2 separate regions of the Homo sapiens genome follow, and region 2 is linked to region 1. Evidence: promoter capture Hi-C in 16 types of primary human blood cells and fetal thymus (Javierre and others, 2016). All regions are on one chromosome and are shown on one strand. Each heading gives the region's core, a stretch centred on a gene start or on the middle of the fragment in contact. The rest is flanking DNA. Distances are from core to core; before and after follow the strand shown. Region 1 holds the start of UCK1 (uridine-cytidine kinase 1). Region 2 has its middle 88 kb from the start of NTNG2.

The links. The method cuts DNA at HindIII sites, captures the fragments that hold promoters and counts their contacts. A CHiCAGO score of 5 or more calls a contact.
Region 2: a fragment that was not itself captured here is called in contact with the fragment with the promoter of UCK1 in region 1 in 2 of 17 cell types (M0 macrophages and total CD8 T cells); the score reaches 5.6 in M0 macrophages.

What each region holds. Positions count from the first base shown.
Region 1 is chr9:131,529,536-131,534,084 of GRCh38, forward strand. It overlaps UCK1 (uridine-cytidine kinase 1), which reads right to left and starts at 1,728. Exons shown (of 7, transcript NM_031432.5): 1 at 1,532-1,728; 2 at 951-1,110; 3 at 1-49. The coding sequence starts at 1,639. RefSeq lists enhancers at 1-179, 885-1,798 and silencers at 1,214-1,263, 1,464-1,823, 1,964-2,133. The HindIII fragment of the contact is 8,496 bases long and covers 1-4,549 here.
Region 2 is chr9:132,247,038-132,252,222 of GRCh38, forward strand. No RefSeq gene overlaps it. Among named protein-coding and RNA genes, the nearest start is that of NTNG2, 88 kb to the left of the region's middle. The HindIII fragment of the contact is 1,817 bases long and covers 2,917-4,733 here.

The sequences.
Region 1 (4,549 bases), core at 478-2,977:
TCCACGATGTTCTTCAGAGTCCTGTGCATCAAATCATTATCAAAGGCATCTGCAGGGTTGGAGACAAAGGCAAGACAGGCAGATGCCCTCGTGCAGCGGACAGCAGGGAACCCTCTCTGCTCTGGGGTCAGCACAGCTGGGTGCTGGGGACACCGAGAACCCTAGCACAGGTAGACTAGGACTACGGCAGTGTATGTTTGGTAGCAACAGTGCCCTCTGCAGCCCTGCAGACCACAGGATGACCCTGTCCTTGCTGTTCTCGGGCTGTGCCACTGCCCAAGCTCTGTGCCCCTGAGATGCCGGAACACAGGGGTTTTCTGATCAGCTCTTCCTGGGAGGTGGGTAGGCTGGGCCTCTGCTTCTCTCTCTTTCTGGGACTAACTGGTTAGACTGCGGCTTTGCAGGCCTTCTTCCCACAAGTCCTTGGGAAAAGGCTGACCATGCCAGCCAGCCAGGGTGGAATCTTCTAGCAGTGGCAGGTGTCTCCCTGCCGCATCTGCCCGTTTACCTGGCCCGGAGCTTCAAGCCACCAGCACTAGTTTACCTACCGCCTCCCACACTGGCCTCTCTGAGGACTTTGCCCCAAAGCACGGGAGGGCACAGTGGGCAGAGGTGTGTGTGGAGGGCCCTAAAGGCCCCAACGTGGGAAGGGAAGATGGGAGGATTTCTCCAGGATCACAGTTGTGGCAGGGCAGGGCAGGGCTCCCCACAGTGCAACAGGCTTCCTGACTGGCTCCAACCACGCTCCTGGGGGGACACTCAGGGCCCAGAGAACTCAGCAAAGTTCCCCTGACTTCACTGTGCAGCCAACTCCACTGCAGGCTGCGTGGCGAGTTGGGGGAACAGCCCAAGCGGGTCTGCATCCATCCAACCTTGGGCCCAAGCGCAGCTGGTTAGCGGCCGCCCAGAATGGGGTCTGCCCTCCCCACATCGTTGGGCTCGCGATTTACCTGGATGGTCAAAATTGTACTGTCCTTTCAAGGCCTTGGCCTTCTGCTCTGCCGTCAGGACCTTGTAGAACCTGTCCTGGCTCAGGATGACCACCTTCCGCTGCCGCTGTTCCACCTCGTTCTGTCCCAGCAACTCCATGATCTTCTCACACACGGTCGACTGGAGACACAGAAGCGGGATTCCCGCCTGGAACCGCTCGTCCTGTGACAGGCACGGGGCCGGCTTCTGGAGACACTGACCCACCCGCCCCCTGGGGGGTATGCTCGGAAGGCGGGAGGACACCAACAGGTGTGGATGGTCTCAGCGGAAGGGCCGCGGGGGCCCAACGGGGTTAGCACGGACTTGGGGCTCCGAGGAGCCCGGCCGGCGGAGAGGCTGTGGGGGAGCCCCGAGGCCCAGCGCCCCAACCCCTCGCCCGCCCCAGCCCGCCCCGGCCCATCGCGGCCTGCAGCCCCTTCGCTCCCGCGCCCTGCCCCTGCCTGGCAGGGGGCCCCTCGGCCGGGGCTGGGGTCTCCTCTCTGGACCGGGCCGCCCGTAGGCACCGGCGAGAGGCGAGACCCCGGCCCGCTCGGCCCCTTACCTTCCCGCTGGCAGTGCCGCCGCTCACCCCTATCAGGAAGGGCCGCTGGTGCGGACGGTCGGCCTCCGGCGCGGGGCTCTCGCAGTCTTCGCCTCCCGCCGAAGCCATCTCGGCCTCCGCTCCCGCGCATCGGGTCCCCGCGCCCGCCCCTTCCCCAGGCCCGGCGCGCCCGCCCAGCGCCGAGGTCGGAGGCAACCGGAGCGATCACTTCCGGGAGGCGCGCGGGGCACGCCGGGAGTTGTAGTCCACCGGGGGGGGGGGGGCCGCGCATGCGTGAGGGTGCAGGGCCCGAGGCCGGCACACCAGGAGCGCCCGCGTCCCATTGCGCCGAAAGCTGGCTGGCAGGGACTGCTGCGCCCGGGCCTCGAGCCGGCTACAAGGTCTCAGACTCAAGTGGCCCGGAAGGTGCCCGTTCCGCACCCCGAGGCTGGGGCTGCGCCTTCGTCCGAGTGCTTGCCTCTGCCTCGCGCTGCCTCTGCGCCAGTCCCGGGCCCTCCCCCGGCCGCCCCCGGGCCTGGCCCCCTCCAGCCCAGGCTCCTCTTGGCCATCGAGGCCTCCGGACTGTCCGGACGCCTCCCACCCCACCCGCTGCTGGAGCCGTCGGGGCGCCCCGGAACGTGGCGGGGGCTGTCGCCTGATGACTTTAGGCTCGCGCCTACAGCGCGCCAAGGAGGCAGAGGCCCATGTGCCGGGTTCCATCCCTGCCGCCCCCCCGCTCCGTGCCTGGCACAGAGAACGTGACAGGCAAATTCTGATCCATTGAAATTATGGATTTCCAGCCGGGCGCGGTGGCTCACGCCTGTAATCCCAACACTTTTGGAGGCTGAGGCGGGTAGATCACGAGGTCAGGAGATCGAGACCATCCTGGCGAACACGGTGAAACCCCGCCTCTACTAAAAATGCAACAAATCAGCTGGGCGTGGTGGCGGGCGCCTGTAATCCCAGCTACTTGGGAGGCTGAGGCAGGAGAATCGCTTGAACCCGGGAGGTGGAGGTTGCAGTGAGCCGAGATGGTGCCACTGCACTCCAGCCTGGGCCACAGAGCAAGACTCCGTCTCAAAAATAAAAAAGAGAGAGAGATAGCTAAGGCTCGGGGCAGAGCATGCTTTTCATATACAAAACAGACAACCCCGGGCGGACGCGGTGGCTCACACCTGTAATCCCAGCACTTTGGGAGGCCGAGGCGGGTGGATCACGAGGTCAGGAGATCGAGACCATCCTGGCTAACATGGTGAAACCCCGTCTCTACTAAAAATACAAAAAATTAGCCGGGCATGGTGGCGGGCGCCTGTGGTCCCAGCTACTCGGGAGGCTGAGGCAGGAGAATGGTGTGAACCCGGGAGGTGGAGCTTGCAGTGAGCCAAGATCACGCTACTGCACTCCGGCCTGGGGGAAAGAGTGAGACTCTGTCTCAAAAAAAAAAAAAAAAAAAAAAAAGACCCCAAGTCTACAGCCCCAGCTACCTCCTTATCTAATTCTCGCCTTTGGAGGCAAGATTCTCCCTGCCCTAAGTCACCCAGGGCCAGGTATCAGGTGACTAGAGACCACTCTGCAGCCCAGAGCCTGCTAGAATTACTCAAACTAGCCAATTTTAAACTCTTTCCCTGCCCTGCCAGGCCTTTTCCATGGAAACCCCAAGAAAGCCTCAGGCCTGGGCTCTCCCCTCGCCCCTGCTTCTGCCTCCTGACCAAACCTGGGGTTCTCTACTGAGAACCGTGCATGGCATGGGTGCCCCTTCTCTCAGGAAATGCGATCAATCTTGCGATGGCTTTGGCCTCTCCTCATGGTCATTCAGCCGTACCTCTGTAAATTAAGCCCCAGGCACAGAACAGTGCCTAGCAAACAGCCACGCTGCTGGCTTAGATCTGTCCAGGTGTGTGTCCCAAAGGTGGCCATCCCCCAAGCCAACTTTGAATTTGTATCAAGGGAGAGTTAGACACGGTTTCTTGCCATTTCTTCCCCTGTGGTCCAGCCACGTAGCGAAAGGCAGGGAAACTAGCAGAGTCTGACCAGGGGCTGTCCCTGATACCCCTGGCCTGGGTCTCGTGTGCCCTCTCTGGTGACTGGCCACAAGGCATGGGCTGCCAGGGCCAGTCAGGCTATTGCGTGGTTCCGCTCCCAAGGCAAAGGGACGCTTTGGGAAGGAGCCACTCCCTGGGAGCAGGCCCAGCACCCAGGAAGCCCACAGTCCAGTAAACAAGGCCCGGGCCCACACGGCTCAGGCCTCTGGGCCACAGTGGCTCCCCTATGGGACCATCCCAACCACCACCAAGCAGAGGGCCAGCCCCAAACCTCTAGCTGGTCCCCAACTCCCCATATTGTGAAGAAGAGTGACTTTTATGGGTTTTTTTTGTTCGTTTTGAGACGGAATCTTGCTCTGTTGCCCAGGCTGGAGTGCAGTGGCATAATCTTGGCTTACCGCAACCTCCGCCTCCCGAGTTCAAGCAATTATCCTGCCTCAGCCTCCCCGAGTAGCTGGGACTACAGGCACCTGCCACCAGGCCCGACTAATTTTTGTATTTTTAGTATAGAGACAGGGTTTTGCCATGTTGCCCAGGCTGGTCTCGAACTCCTATTCACCTGCCTCAGCCTCCCAAAGTGCTGGGATTACAGGTGTGAGCCTCTGTGCCCAGCCGAAGAGTGTCCTTAAAGAAGCATGAGTCAGCCGGGTGCAGTGGTTCACGCCTGTAATCCCAGCACTCTGGGAGGCCGAGGCAGGCGGATCACTTGAGGTCAGGAGTTCGAGACCAGCCTGGCCAACATGGTGAAACTCCATCTCTACTAAAAATACAAAAATTGGCCGGGCACGGTGGCTCACGCCTGTAATCCCGGCACTCTGGGAGGCTGAGGCAGGCGACTCACGAGGTCAGGAGTTCAAGACTAGCCTGGCCAACATAGTGAAACCCCGTCTCTACTAAAAATACAAAAAATTAGCTGAGCACAGTGGCGGGCGCCTGTAATCCCAGCTACTCGGGAGGCTGAGGCAGGAGAATCGCTTGAACCTGGGAGGCGGAGATT
Region 2 (5,185 bases), core at 2,575-5,074, 720 kb after region 1:
CTCCACATACCAGGGCTCTGAAAGCGTCCTGGCCAGGGACCTTAGCCACAAGCACCGAAACAAAACACCAGGTGATTTAAGAGGCAGAGGAGATTAAAGGATCACAGACCCCTCAGACACATGTCAGGAGAACAAGGTAAGAGTAGGGAAAGTGGGCCACGCGGTGGCTCACACCTGTAATCCCAGCACTTTGGGAGGCCAAGGCAGGCAGATCACCTGAGGTCAGGAGTTCGAGACCAGCCTGGCCAACATGGCGAAACCCCGTCTCTACTGAAAATATAAAAATTAGCCAGGCGTGGTGGTGGGCACCTGTAATCCCAGATACCTGGGAGGCTGAGGCAGGAGAATCCGTTGAACCTGGGAGGTGGAGGTTACAGTGAGCCGAGATCGCGCCACTGCACTCCAATCTGGGCAACAAAGCAAGACTCCGTCTCAAAAAAATAATAATAATAAAAATAAAAACTAGCTGGGTGTGGTGGCAGATGCCTATAGTCCCCCCCCCAACTTGGGAGGCTGAGGCAGGAGAATCCCTTGAACCCAGGAGACGGAGGTTGCAGTGAGCCGAGATCACGCCGCTGTACTCCAGCCCGGGCAAAGAGCAAGACTCCGTCTCAAAAAAACAAACAGCTGGGCTCAGTGGCTCATGCCTCTAATCCCAGCACTTTGGGAGGCTGAGGTGGGTGGATCACCTGAGGTCAGGAGTTCGAGACCAGCCTGACCAACATAGAGAAACCCCGTTTCTGCTAAAAATACAAAATTAGCTGGGCATGGTGGTGCATGCCTGTAATCCCAGCTACTCAGGAAGCTGAGGCAGGAGAATCGCTTGAACCTGGGAGGCAGAGGTTGCAGTGAGCTGAGATTGTGCCACTGCACTCCAGCCTGGGCAACAAGAGCAAAACTCCATCTCAAAAACAAACAAAAAAACAAAAAAGAGGAGGTAAAGTGGAGTCAGGAAGGGCACCCAGTATCCCGCCCAGGGTGGCTGGAGAGCCAGAGCTTCAGATGCTGCCTTGGGCGCTGCCCTGGGCACATCCCTCACCCCCAGGGCTACCCCCTGCTGGCCTCCCCACCACAGCCCCCACCACGCACCCGCACCCTCCAGTCCAGCATTTGCCACTCCAGCAAGGGGGGGTGGGCTCTGTTTCCTCAACCAGAGGAAGAAAACAAAGAAAGAATGTCCACCACGGAGCGGGTGTGTAAGTTGCCCGGGGTCGCACAGCCAGGAAGAGCCAGAGGCCAGGATTCAAATGCACTCTCTTGGGCAGGCTGCACAGCCCTGCACCTTTTTTTATTTTATTTTTTCCCTTTATTTATTTATCTTATTTATTTTTAACAACAATGGCCTCATCGTATACACATCCTTCTTTAGCCTGCTATATAAAACTTAGCACTGTATCTAGACTATCAAAGGAGGCCTTTTAAAATAAAAGAGAGGCCGGGCGTGGTGGCTCACGCCCACAATCCCAGCACTTTGGGAGGCCGAGGTGGATGGATCTCCTGAGGTCAGGAGTTCGAGACCAACCTGGCCAACAAGGTGAAACCCCCTTCTCTACTAAAAATATAAAAAATAGCTGGGCGTGGCTGCAGGTGCCTGTAATCCCAGCTACTCAGGGGGCTGAGGCAGGAGAATCGCTTGAACTCAGGAGGCAGAGGTTGCAGTGAGCTGAGATCATGCCATTGCACTCCAGCCTAGGTGACAAGAGTGAGACTCCATCTCAAAAATAATAATAATAATAAAAGAAAAAAGAAATGCAAGGCCAGGCACAGTGGCTCATGCCTGTAATCCTAACACTTTGGGAGTCCAAGGCGGGCGCATCACTTGAGGTCAGGACTTCCAGACTAGCCTGGCCAACATGGCAAAACCCCGTCTCTACTAAAAATACAAAAATTAGCTGGGCGTGGTGGCAGGTGCCTGTAATCCCAGCTACTCGGGAGGCTGAGGCAGGAGAATCGCTTGAACCCGGGAGGCGGAGGTCGCAGTGAGCCTAGATCATGCCACTGCACTCCTCTGGGTGACAGAGGGAGACTCCGTCTCAAAAAAAAACAAAAAGAAATGCAAAGCCCCACCTTTCATTTTTTGCCCAGCCTCTCACCCTCTTCCCCTCCCAGCCTGGGCCGGCTGGCAGTGGGACTCTGGCTCCCAGGGCAGGGGGTTGCCATGTACCCTTCTGACACCTCAGGGTCTGGCCCAGTGCCTGTGCTCCTGGTGGCACAGGAGACCTTGCTGCCCCACAGGGGCGGCCAGGTGGAGGCACCTGCGGCCAAAGTGCTCCAGATGGCTTCCAGCCAGAGGCTCTCTCCCTGGATGATGGAGCAGGTGGCCCTTGGGACCCAGCCAGGAGTAGCTGGAGTGAGGCCCAGAGTCCTGGGAGCTCGTGCCTTTCACTGCTGACCCAGTGCCCGCATTTCTGCCCCTGAAGGGGAGGGCAGCTCCTCAGGCAGAAGGACGGTGAGCTCTGGAACCTGATTTGGGCTTGAAGCTGTACCCCACACCTGCCAACTATACATCCTTGGGCAAGTTCCTCAGTCTCTCTGTGCCTTGGCCATCTCATCTGTGAAATGGGGATGTTAAAAATAGCGCCTGCAGGGTGGGGCCGTTGTGAGGAGTGAATGAGTTGAGCCGCGCAGTGTTTAGAACAGGGCCTGGCACCAAGTCAGCCATCCCTAAGTGTCAGCTGCTGTGATTGCTTTGTTTCCTCTGTGCCCCCTCCCCAAAACCTGCTAGGAGGGTTCAGGCTCACTCACACCTCCTTTCTCACTCATCATATTCCTGAGCACCTCAACGTGACCAGCCTGGCCCAGTGAACCAGACAGACACAGGCTCTGCCCTCCCGGAGCTCCCGGTGGGCCCCTCGCTGCCACCTGCCTTACACACCAGGCAGGATTGAGATTCTTTGTAATCTGCAGAGGGGCCCAAGCTTTTGTGCCAACAAGAAGGACCAGGAAGACTCCCGAAGCCCCTGCCCACCCCACCACCCTCACCTGGCCAAGCCCGGCCTGACTCAGCAGGCCCCAGAAACCTCGGTGCCTGTTCCTCAAACACCCGGACACCTCCTTCCCCTTTCCCCTCCTGCCCACAGAGGGCTTAAGATTGGGGATGGGGTTGTTTGGGGGGTAGGGGATGAGGGCAGAGGGAGGCTCACAGGACTGGGGAGGTGGGGCGTGAATGGGACAGTTGGGAACCAGGAAATGGAGTTTCCAGCGCCCTTCTAGCAGGCACAGCTGACTGTGCCACCTGCCTTCAGAGGTCTCCCCATGCCCAAGAAAGGACGCATGGGCCCCCTGGCTTGGCCCAGCAGGAACATGAGGGCCAGGCAGGGCCAATTCCCAAGAAGCTGAGCCTGCAAGGGACCCGTGGAGAAGATGGGCCTATAAGTTGAGGACGGGGCTCCTGGTGGCCCCCACAGCCCAGGCCAGGCTTGCAGTGCTGGGGAGTACAGGCCTGGACAATGCCTTTGACGGGGTGGCTTTGAGACCTGTGACTCGAGTTTTACACAGCCAGGCAGCGCTAACCCCGGAGACCAGGATCCCGACCTCTGGGTGTCAACACGGCGCCCCCTGCATTTCCAGGGCTAGGACAAGAGCACAGATGGAGGCTCCTGTACCACGTGTCTGGATATTTAAAGCCGCCCATCAAGCTGTTGAATAAAGTTCAGCCAGTCCTAGACAAGCAATCCCTTCACAGTGACCTGAAAGGCTGGGCTCAAATCTGTACCCTTGGACTCCTCCAGCTGTGGCCAGCACGTGGTGGGGTGGCTGGGCCTGGCTTCCCCAACCAGTCACCCTACCCAGGCTCTGATCCTGGGTGGCCTAGAAGGAGTGTGCAGGCTCTGGGGGGCACGCCCCTTAAGCCCATGGCGGGGTTGGGGAGGCCCTGAGCAGGGCTGGAGATACCCAGCCTCACCTCCTGGGGCCCCCTGGGGCCACAGAAGCTATCAGGCAGCCTCTGTGACCCCTCTTGGAAGACCGGCCACAAATACCCACAGTCCCATGGTGCACATAGGGGCAGAGCTCTGGGGTAGCAGGAAACCTATGAGTGGAGACATTTGGGCCCACCCCCAGCCAGCCAGCTGCCTGCTTGGCCAACGGCAAATGTGTACTGCTGTGCGTGCCACGCTGGACAGCCCTGTGCCAGCCACTGGGGCAGCCAAGGGAAGTCTTGAGTGAGAAGCAGCCTCAGTTCAGACTGACGTGTCAGGGGGACGTAAGCCCTGGTGTTGCTGGTTCTTTAGATCAGCATTTCCCTGGGGACAAGTTTCGTGGAAGACAATTTTCCGATAAATAATCAGAGTGGGGGATGGTTTTCAGGTGAAACTGTTCCATCTCAGATCATCAGGCATTAGATTCTCATAAGCAGCATGCAACCTAGATCCCTTGAATGCACAGTTGACAATAGGGTTCATGTCCTATGAATCTGGCAGGAGGTGGAGCTCAGGCAGTGATGCTCACTTGCCACTCGCCTCCTGCTGTGTGGCCCCATTCCTAGCAGGCCATGGACCGGTACTGGTCTGTGGCCTGGGGGTTGGGGACCCCTGCTCTAGATGTTTCAAGAAAAACCAGAAATCTCAAGTTTAATGTCAACCTTTGGATTTTCAAACATTGACAACTACCTTGTCTATCTTTAAAATCATGGGGACCAATTCTTCAAAAAGTCAAACAGAATTCACATAAGATCCAGCAGTTCTGCTCCTAGTACAGGTCCTCAAAGAATGGAAAGAAGGTATTCAAACAAAAGCTTGTACACAAATGCTCACAGTGGCACGATTCACAATAACCAAAGGCTACTGGGAAAACAGCACAAAAGCCACATTTGGGAAATAAATTGTCCATCAACTATCCATCAACTAATGAATGGATAAACAAAATGCTGTACAGCCACACAGTGGACTGTGATTCAGTCAGAAAAAGGCATGAAGCACTGATACACCTACGATGTGGGTGAACTTAAAAACATTATGCCGGCTGGGCGCGGTGGCTCACGCCTATAATCCCAGCACTTTGGGAGACCGAGGCAGGAGGATTACCTGAGGTCAGGAGTTCAAGACCTGTAGGGACCAGCCCTACAGGATCTGTGGGTTTTTCTCCCTGTGTGGAGAGATGAGAGATTGTAGTAATAAAGACACAAGACAAAGAGATAGAAGAAAAGACAGCTGGACCCGGTGGACCACTACCACCAAGACATGGA